2 separate regions of the Homo sapiens genome follow, and region 2 is linked to region 1. Evidence: promoter capture Hi-C in 16 types of primary human blood cells and fetal thymus (Javierre and others, 2016). All regions are on one chromosome and are shown on one strand. The core of a region is centred on a gene start or on the middle of the fragment in contact, and the rest is flanking DNA. Distances in the headings are between cores, read along the strand shown.

Evidence for each region. Contacts are between HindIII fragments. The CHiCAGO score rates a contact against its expected background, and 5 or more counts as called.
Region 2: a contact is called between a fragment that was not itself captured here and the fragment with the promoter of FAM228A in region 1, in 1 of 17 cell types (total B cells). The highest score is 5.0, in total B cells.

What each region holds. Positions count from the first base shown.
Region 1 is chr2:24,172,184-24,176,545 of GRCh38, reverse strand. It overlaps FAM228A (family with sequence similarity 228 member A), which reads right to left and starts at 1,493. Exons shown (of 6, transcript NM_001040710.3): 1 at 1,372-1,493; 2 at 973-1,079. The coding sequence starts at 1,065. LOC105374328 (a long non-coding RNA gene) reads left to right here and starts at 1,750. Exons shown (of 4, transcript XR_939833.4): 1 at 1,750-2,038. The HindIII fragment of the contact is 4,096 bases long and covers 1-3,146 here.
Region 2 is chr2:23,800,094-23,804,556 of GRCh38, reverse strand. All of the region lies in intron 18 of ATAD2B (ATPase family AAA domain containing 2B), which reads left to right. Among named protein-coding and RNA genes, the nearest start is that of ATAD2B, 120 kb to the left of the region's middle. The HindIII fragment of the contact is 1,899 bases long and covers 1,598-3,496 here.

The DNA of each region.
Region 1 (4,362 bases), core at 244-2,743:
AAAGCCTTCTCAGACTTATTTTAAGAAGACAGGCCAGGCAGGGTGGCTCACGCCTGTAATCCTAGTGCTCTGAAGGCCCAGGCAGGAGAATTACTTGAGCCCAGGAGTCTGAGGTTACAGAGAGCTATGATTGGGCCACTGCACCCCAGCCTGGGCTACAGAGCAAGAACCTGTCTCTAAAATATTTTTTTTAATTAAAATGAAGATGGCAACTGAAAAAGTATGTAAAACAATTAAACATGTATCCTGACACTACAATAAAAATTTAGAATCTATTTATTTATTTGGAGAAGCAGAACATATTGACAAGCATCTTGGGAAGTCACCTTCTTAAAGAACATCCTAGTAAGATTGTTAACAAATGTTATGTACATTCTTGAGTCAGATTCTCAAATAATCTTTGTTTAAAGAAATTAAACAGTTTTTGTCTTTGATGGCTCTTCTTTGTGATTTTGCCAGGAAATATAAGGAAAAGGTCATGATTTGCAGCAGCACTTTTCGAAATCCACAGCTTTCTGTGCACACACATAGAAAAATTAAGCATCTCACTGCTCCGACCGCCACTAGGGCAAAAGGGGAAAAAGAAAGGAAATTTCCAAGAGTTTTTCACAGCGAGGCAAATCATAGGATGACACAAAATAATGAAACTTTTTGAGAAAATCATTACCAGACGCTGAAGTATGCAGAATTGACTGGCAAGCCCAGACCTGGCTTCTGCCGGGGAGCTGGGGTGGCTGCCTTCACCCGCCCGGCTGCCCGCCCCCGTCGGTGCGCCAGCCCCCAGGCTGGCGACTGGAAACACTCTTGGCCACACTCTCGGCCAAATCTGAGCCCGAACATTCCCCTTCAACGCCTGCTTTAAAGCAGGCACTGTCACAATCCTGAGAACAGAAGCGAAATTAAGATAAACAGTTCCCAAACTCGAGGGGTCCCCCCGCCAAAATGACGTCTCAAAACGCCACGTTATCTCACCTCCATTAAAGAAACGGACTCGGGCTCCGGCCATTCTCTTAACTTTTCTGGCCTGAAATGTTCATCATAACTCGCAGTTTTGGTGGCAGCCATGGACAGGAGAATCCCTGAGGGATGAAAAGGTAAACTGAGGCTGAGGAAGACGGTTACCGTTGAGAGCCAGGCCTTTGGGCTCAGGGAGTGTTCAAATCCCGCTCGGCCCCTTTCTAAAAGCTGAGCCGAGTCACCCAACAAACTGGGATCCTTGGCGCCCTAGGCGCTTCAACAGGCCCGGCTACCCACTCCCGTGTCGTCCTCGGGCCAAAGCGGGCCTTTCCTCCGGGGCGCGCCCCCCTGGCCCTGCCACAGCCCTCCCTGGGCTCCGCGACCCCCAGGCCCGTAGGCCTCCCCGGGCCCCACCTCAGGCCAGCTCCGGGGGAAGTCGCAGGCCCCGCGGCTCCGTCCCGGTAGGGCTCCCCCGAGGCCGCGTCCTGGAGCGGCGACGGAGAAAGGAGCCCGCGGGCCCGAGCGTCGGGGCGCATGCGCCACGCCAGATCCCGGGGTGCTGCCCCGACGCCAGCTGGACGGTGACGCCGAAGTCCCGGGAAAAGGAAGGGCGCCATTTGATTTCACAGCAAACGGGCGGTGACACCGACTTCCCGGGAAAGGGAAAGGCGCCATTTGATTTCACAGAAAACGGAAACGCAGTGATGAAGCCCAGCGCCTGGCCCTCGCCCTCCCTCCACGTCTGTCTCGGGGGCGCCCTCCCCTCGCAGGAGCCAGGGCACGCGGGCCTTCAACCGCCGAGGCCCCCGCCGCCCTTCTGGACTTTTATCGAGGCATGTACACTAATACGAAAGAGAATTTGCCATTTACCTGTAAGATTGAGGGTGACAACGTAAGAGGAATGGTTTTAAGTGACGCGTCCGGCTCCTTACTCCCACTGAAGGGTGAAGGTGCCACAGGTGGACCTGGTTTGGATTCTGATGTGAAGAAACCGACTTCAAAACATTTGGGCCAATCAGGAAAATGCGAAAACTCTGACTACAAATTTAATGATATCTAGAATTATTGTTAATAGTTTAAGGTATGGTACATTATCACAACCAAGATTTGACATAGCTACAGTCAAGATACAGGATATTATCTTGTATCAGGTGTATCAGGACACCACTACAAGGATTACTCTGTTTTCAGCCAATGTTTCTTCAAGTATGTTTTTTAGTCCTGCCTGTTTCTCTCGTCCTTCTGGGATTCTGATGACATGAATATTATTATAGCCCCCACAGCCACTTAAGCCTCTCTTCTTCCCTCCACCCCCAGTCTATTTTCTCATTTTTTAAGATTGGGTAATTTTTATTGTTCTATCTTCCAGCTCACTGATTCTTTCCTCCATCTTCTCTATTCTACTGTTGAGCTTAACTGCTGAGCTTTTTATTTTGGCTATTGTAATTTTCAGTTCTACAATTTTCATCTGGTTCTTCTTTGTATCTCCTGTTTGCTCAGGATTTTTATTTTTTCATTTGCTTCAAGTGTATCCATATTTGCTCATTGAAGCAGTTTTCTCATAGCAACTTTAAAAGTCTGTGAGCTTATTCTAACATCTTTGTCATCTCAGTGCTGGTCTCTATTGAAGTCTGAACATTTTCAGTTTATATTATGAGACTCTGGATCTTATTTAAACTTTCTGTTTTAGCTGGCTTTCTCCAACACCAATCTAACAGGGTTAATGAGGTTACCACCTCATTACTGCCAGATGGAGATAGGAATCCAGGTGCCCCAGTTGGCCTTCATTGACACTTGAGGGGCCAAAGTTCCTCATTACTGCTGTGTAGACCATGATTTAGAGATTCTAGTCAGGCTAACTGAGAGACCATTCAGCAAATTACTTCCTTATATGGTATAATCTTCTCGAGAAAAGGAGCTGAATCTATCTCATCTTTACATCTTTCTCATAACATGGGACCATCTATGACTGACCCAAATAGCAGGCGAACAGAAAATTCCTGTTGAGTAGACGACATACACAGAAAAGTATAATATACTGATGGCTTAAACTACATTAAGTATAAGCAAAAGGTGATACAAAATAGGATTTTTAATTTCTACCTAGCTTCTTCCTTACTTCATTTGAAAATAAAAGTTTCCCTGATTTACTGAATCAACTTATTTCAATCTCATATGATTTAAAAGCTTACCTGAGCATTTGTCTCTTTACTTGATGTTCCCTGGCAATGTCGCCTTTTTTACATGGTGAAAATAACTGTTAAGGATTTGAAAGATTCTCCTTTCAATAGGTAGTGCTTCACTGAGTCTTCACCTAGGCTCTTGCTGCAGGCTCTGTGTCTCTTTCTACATACCACAACTAAGTCAGTTAATCTCATAGTATTAAAATCTTTTGTTACTGTTTCTCCCACTAACTTTAGGGCAGAGAGCCTATGTTGGCTCATCCTTATATCCCCAGAACCTGGCAGAGCACCTGGGAAAAACAGGCACTTAAATACTTACTAAGTGAATGATGAATAAATAAATGAATGAGACATAATCCCAACATCTACACAAAATGAAATTTCAATGTCAACATATGAAAAAAACATTTAAGAGACTGAAGACTTGTCTACCAGGAGAGCATCAAGCCTTTTGAAGCTTTGCAGTCGGCCTCTGGTTGCCATTTTGGCATAGCTAGTATTTTTAGTCATTTATAACTGTAATAGAGAAAAGCATTTCTATCCAAAAAGTCTCTTTAAATCAAAAAGTCTAGGCCAGTCATGGTGGCTCATGCATGTAATCCCAGCACTTTGGGAGGCCGAGGTAGGAGGATCGCTTGAGGCCAGGTGTTCAAGACCAGCCTGGGCAACACAATGGGACCGCGTCTCTACAAAACGTTTAAAAATTAGCTGGGCATGGTGGCAGGCACCTGTAGTCCCAGCTACTCAGGAAGCTGAGGTGGGAGGATCACTTGAGTCCGGGAGGTTGAGGCTGAAGCAAGCCATGCTTGTATCCACTCCAGCTGGGAGACAGAACAAGACCTTGTCCCAGAAAACAAAACAAAAGTCTCAATGTTTGTGAAGTGTACATGTTAACCTTAACCATAAGAACAAATTTGCACCTAGATTTTTATTTTAAAAGTATGATATAGATTTAGGCTACCTGTTATAAAGAAAACTTAAGAAATTTCTAAATTTACTTGAACGAAGGAAAGGCTATGGAGAAGGCAGTAATGACTGATTCATGGAACAGAACTGATTTACCGAGACTTTTCTCCTTCTATAAAAAGTCAAGGTGAAGTAACAATATCCCTTTAATGCTGATGTGATTTCTAGAAGTCTGTTTTGACTGATGAAGTAATATAAAAGGGAAAAAATGCCAAGAACTAGAGTATTATAAAATCCTTCAGGGTCTCCCCATAAA
Region 2 (4,463 bases), core at 1,298-3,797, 370 kb after region 1:
GAGAGAGGTGTCACTTGGTAGTGAAAAACAATGAAAACTCACTATCATTTTGGTTGTATTTCACTTTCTCTAGTACATTAAGGCATCTCATCTTCTGAGTTTATACCTAAGAGCTTCTGGGTTAGAAGTCGAGCTTACTCTAGAGTGACCCCTCCTGGATAGGCAGTCTGCCAGGACGAGCCATGAAGTGCAGTCATGATAGCAGACACCCACCCTCTATCTGAACACTGGCCAGAGACCAGATGTCTTGGCTAATCTGTGATTATATGTGTCTTAAGTGCATATTTAAAATTATTTTACATTCATAAATATAACACTATCTTTGCTAACAAATTCGGCAAGAAGAAGCTGTTACATAATGTAAGAGGAATTTTTAAATAATTGGTAAAGGTTGGCAAACCAGGTTATAAGTGGGTACAAAAGCGCTAGGGAAGAGAGTGCATGAGTCAGGTGCTGAAACACTGGAAAGATTGAAAAAGATTCTCTTTTCTTCTGTTCTATATTCCTTTTTGGTTCTTCCTTTTTGCTTCACCTTTCTTGGCAGCTAGTCCTCCTATACTCAGAGGTATCTCTCTAAATCGATGTGTAATATAAGGGTTTAGTCTGTGGTAAGTTATTCTTGCATGTTTTCTCTTTTCCCCAGGCTCTAAAATGCTTAATATAAATTAAGTTTGGTATTTAGTAGTGTAACATGAACATGAAAGGCAGTCTTAAAGGGAATCTTAAATCACTTTTAAAGGGCTGTATGTATATGCGTGGTAAGGTGGGAGACCCTACTTGATATTGTTTATACTGTGGGGATCATGTTTCATTTTATGTCTATCCTTTAAAACATACATGCACAAGAATATACATGACAGAACTTTCTTTTCTCCTTCTGACGGATTCAGCTATTGATTAATATTATCAATTGGAGTGAAAAATGGCAGAGTTAGTGTCAACTATATTAAAAAGCAATGTTTTTCTTATTGTTTCTTAAGATTTAGTGTGCATAAGAATCACCTGAGTGTACTTACACAAATTTCTGATTTTCTGGCTCCACACCCATAGATTGTGATTCACTCAATTTGGAATGAGTCCCAGGAATCTGTACTTTGTAAAAATGCATCTCAGATATTACTATTCTAGGTTTTCAATAGCTCTCACTTTGAGCTATAGTACTTTAGCTGGTCACTAGACATTAGTCCAACATTTATTACTGAAACAAATGCGTGCGCGTGTGTGTGTGTGTGTGTGTGTGTGTACACACATATGTTACTGAGCATTTCACAGTCAGCTTTGGAAGGAGAATGAGAACCCTTGGTATAGCCTGGAAGATTTATAGTTGCCCCCTTAAGTTCACAAGTAATTACTGAGTCCTACAACAAGGCAGGAGATGTTAATATCGGTAGTAAAAGACCTTTGGTATTAACACTCTTAAAAAACAAAACAAAACTATGATTCTCTTTTTCTGACATCCTCAAATATAATTTTTGCCTCCTGTATATTTCTATTGTTGATTTAGAAAAAAGGGACTGATAAGCGTGCTATATTTTATCTTTTTAATTATTAGAGAGGTTTCATTCAATTAATACATTTATATATGGTCTGAAAAGCTTTGGAGTTTATGTACTGTGTGGTGTTGGGAATAATTTCAAAAGGTGAATAAGGTCTTTTCTTGGTGAAAATTTAAATGCATTTCTTTCCCCAGAAAGAAATTGTTATCTGGAATTTCACAGGGGAAATTCTTTTTGGTTGAATAGCATGAAAGTATTAATAATGTACTTACCTGTGTGTATACTTCGGTTGCTCTTGTGTTTGTGCTTATAGATTTCTGGATTTCTCTGTAGCAGTCTGTGTATATTTTGGATGCTTTTGTGTTTGCTCACATGGATATCTGACTTTTTCCATAGCAACACTTCTTAAATTTTTTTTTTTTTTGAGTTGTAGACAAGTTAAATTATCCTGACCTGGAGTGTGTCACATTTACTGAAATTCTTGAAGTCCTTAGGGAATGAAAATATTAGAAAAAGAATTTAAGTGATTTAATTTTCATAAAATGCTAATTTGTGTTACTACCATAGTTCAGAAACTAGTACAGGTGTGTTTTATAACAGGCTGATTTTATGTGCATGTAAAGAAATTTGTACCTTATTTATTGAATCCTGAATCTTTAGAATCCAGACAGTGCCTTCTTTTCACAAGAGATTCTCAATAAATCTTATATGAAGGGAATATAAATAGAGTAAAGGGATAAAAATGGAATAAAGCCACCAGCAATGCACAGATGTTATTTATTTTAATAATTTCTGATAGCATGGCACAAAGAATTAAACTTATTTATTAGTGCCTTTTAATTTTTATAAATATTGAGGATGTTTTAGCTCCCAACATTTTTCTTTTACCTGTGCTTTATAATTTTAATATATTTATAATACTATTAAGTGATTGAGACAAGTTCTGGAAGTTTCTTGATGACACAAATTTGTTTCCCTCTTTTCTATATTGCCCTCTTTAGGCAGGTAAAAGTGATACTGGCTTTGAGCTTTCTGCTTCATTCACATTTGGGTTTAAAATTTTTCTAGTTTTCAATTTCTAAAGGAAATGGCTTGTTGTGGGACTATAAATTCTTAGTTTAAAAATACACTAGATTTTCATGGATGGAACATTTTAATTTCATGGCTAAAATGCTGACTTCAAAGTTTAGCTTTTGAGATGATTAGAACTCTTGTAAGTGCAAGAGTTATATCATGAGTGCTTCCTTGGATGGATACTTCTAACTTCAATGGCCTGATTTTTGCCTTTAATATCTTTAATATTTAGAGGAAGTAGTTTGTGATTTTTTTTTAATAAAGAAAGTTTTAAAAAAATTAGTTATCTAAGGTCCTTATGATGTCTGTGGCAAGAAGGAGGTCAGAAGGAAATGGAGTATAATGTTGTAATAAAGAATCAAAATGAACAGTTCACATATGCTGGTATTTGTTCATTTTACTTGTGCAAGAGTGCTGGTCATGTCAGAGGTATTTTGAAACGGTTGGTTCAGTAATTTGGCCTACTGTCTTTTTTTTTTTCTATAACAGTTTTTCTGTTTTCTACTACACCTTGCACATCCACCAATCCAAGACACCCTATAGGTGAGTATTTTTCTAGTTCTCAAATGGCATCACTTGTTCCCAAGCCAGTTGCCGCTTCATTGAAACTAGGCTATATTTTTCTACTCTGAATTATCTGGTATTTGATTTCACAGAGTGTATTTTACTCCACACTTTAAAAGTTACCAGCAAACTGCTGAAGAGCTGTTTTTATATTACAGAAAAAAATCATAATAGTATTAAACTTTTTTTTTTCCTGTTGCTTATACTATAAGAATTTTTAAATGCTATTCTCAAACTCTGTTCTTTTTGAATTTTTATTACAAAATGGGAATTAGAACAGACTGGTTATAAATCTAAAGAAAATATAAAAGTTTATTTTAATATTCTGAGATAACATAGAATAAGGAATTTAAAAGAAAGCTTGTTTTAATAGTGCTTTTTAGTTTTTGTAGAAATTAAGGATGGTTTTCCTCTAAAGACTTAGGAGAAAAATTACAAAAATATTTCATAGATGTTGGTATTTCATGTAGTTAGGTTAATTCTCAATTCATGTAATTATACACTCATAGATCAGAAAGGCGAAGCCTTTTTATTTTTCCATGTTCATCTTAGACTTGCCTGATTTTTTTCCCCAATAGGTTTTCAAATATAAATTTTTTTTTTAATCAAGAAGGACATTTTCCTAAAGGCTTTGGAAGTAAAAAGCTTCGAGATTTTTTTTTTAATTGGATCACTAGGATATCATGTTCAATTTGTTAATTTTGAGAAGATGAGATGAAAATAAGAAATTTTTTGGAAATGTGGACAAATTTCTAAATTTTTTAATGGGGTCAATACAACATCATGTTCAATTTGAGTTCAATATCATGTTAATTTTGAGACAATTGGAGGAAAAAAAGAAACAGAAAAAAACAAACCTCAACTCTTAGAGCTGGTGATGATTGTATGTAGTTCACCCTTGCAAATACAGTTAAGACACCTGTAGTTAACTTCTGACTCTGTCAAATTGTTATCACTTAACCTTCTGTTGCTTTGCTCATCCTCTTTGATACTTGTTAATGGCTAGATGTTCTCAACACATGTTCCTGGAAAATCTAACCTAGAAGTACTAGAATGAAAGGCAAAATTTCATTTTTTTAAAGGCATGTTTTCCTATCTCTCTCATACCCTGGGCATGTATGTGGTAGCTTGCATGGCTGAATTAAGTGATTGGCTTTGTGAGGTTTCTTAGTAACCTATAGCTGGTTAGTCTTTCATATGATCACCTTTGTTTCCTTGCTGACTCTTTCTTGTTTTACCAGCACAGAGTGGGGAACTGGAAAGTGACAAAAGGAGTTGGTCACTGTCTTCCACGTAACCATGCCTGATTTGGGTGGCATGTAATTTTTT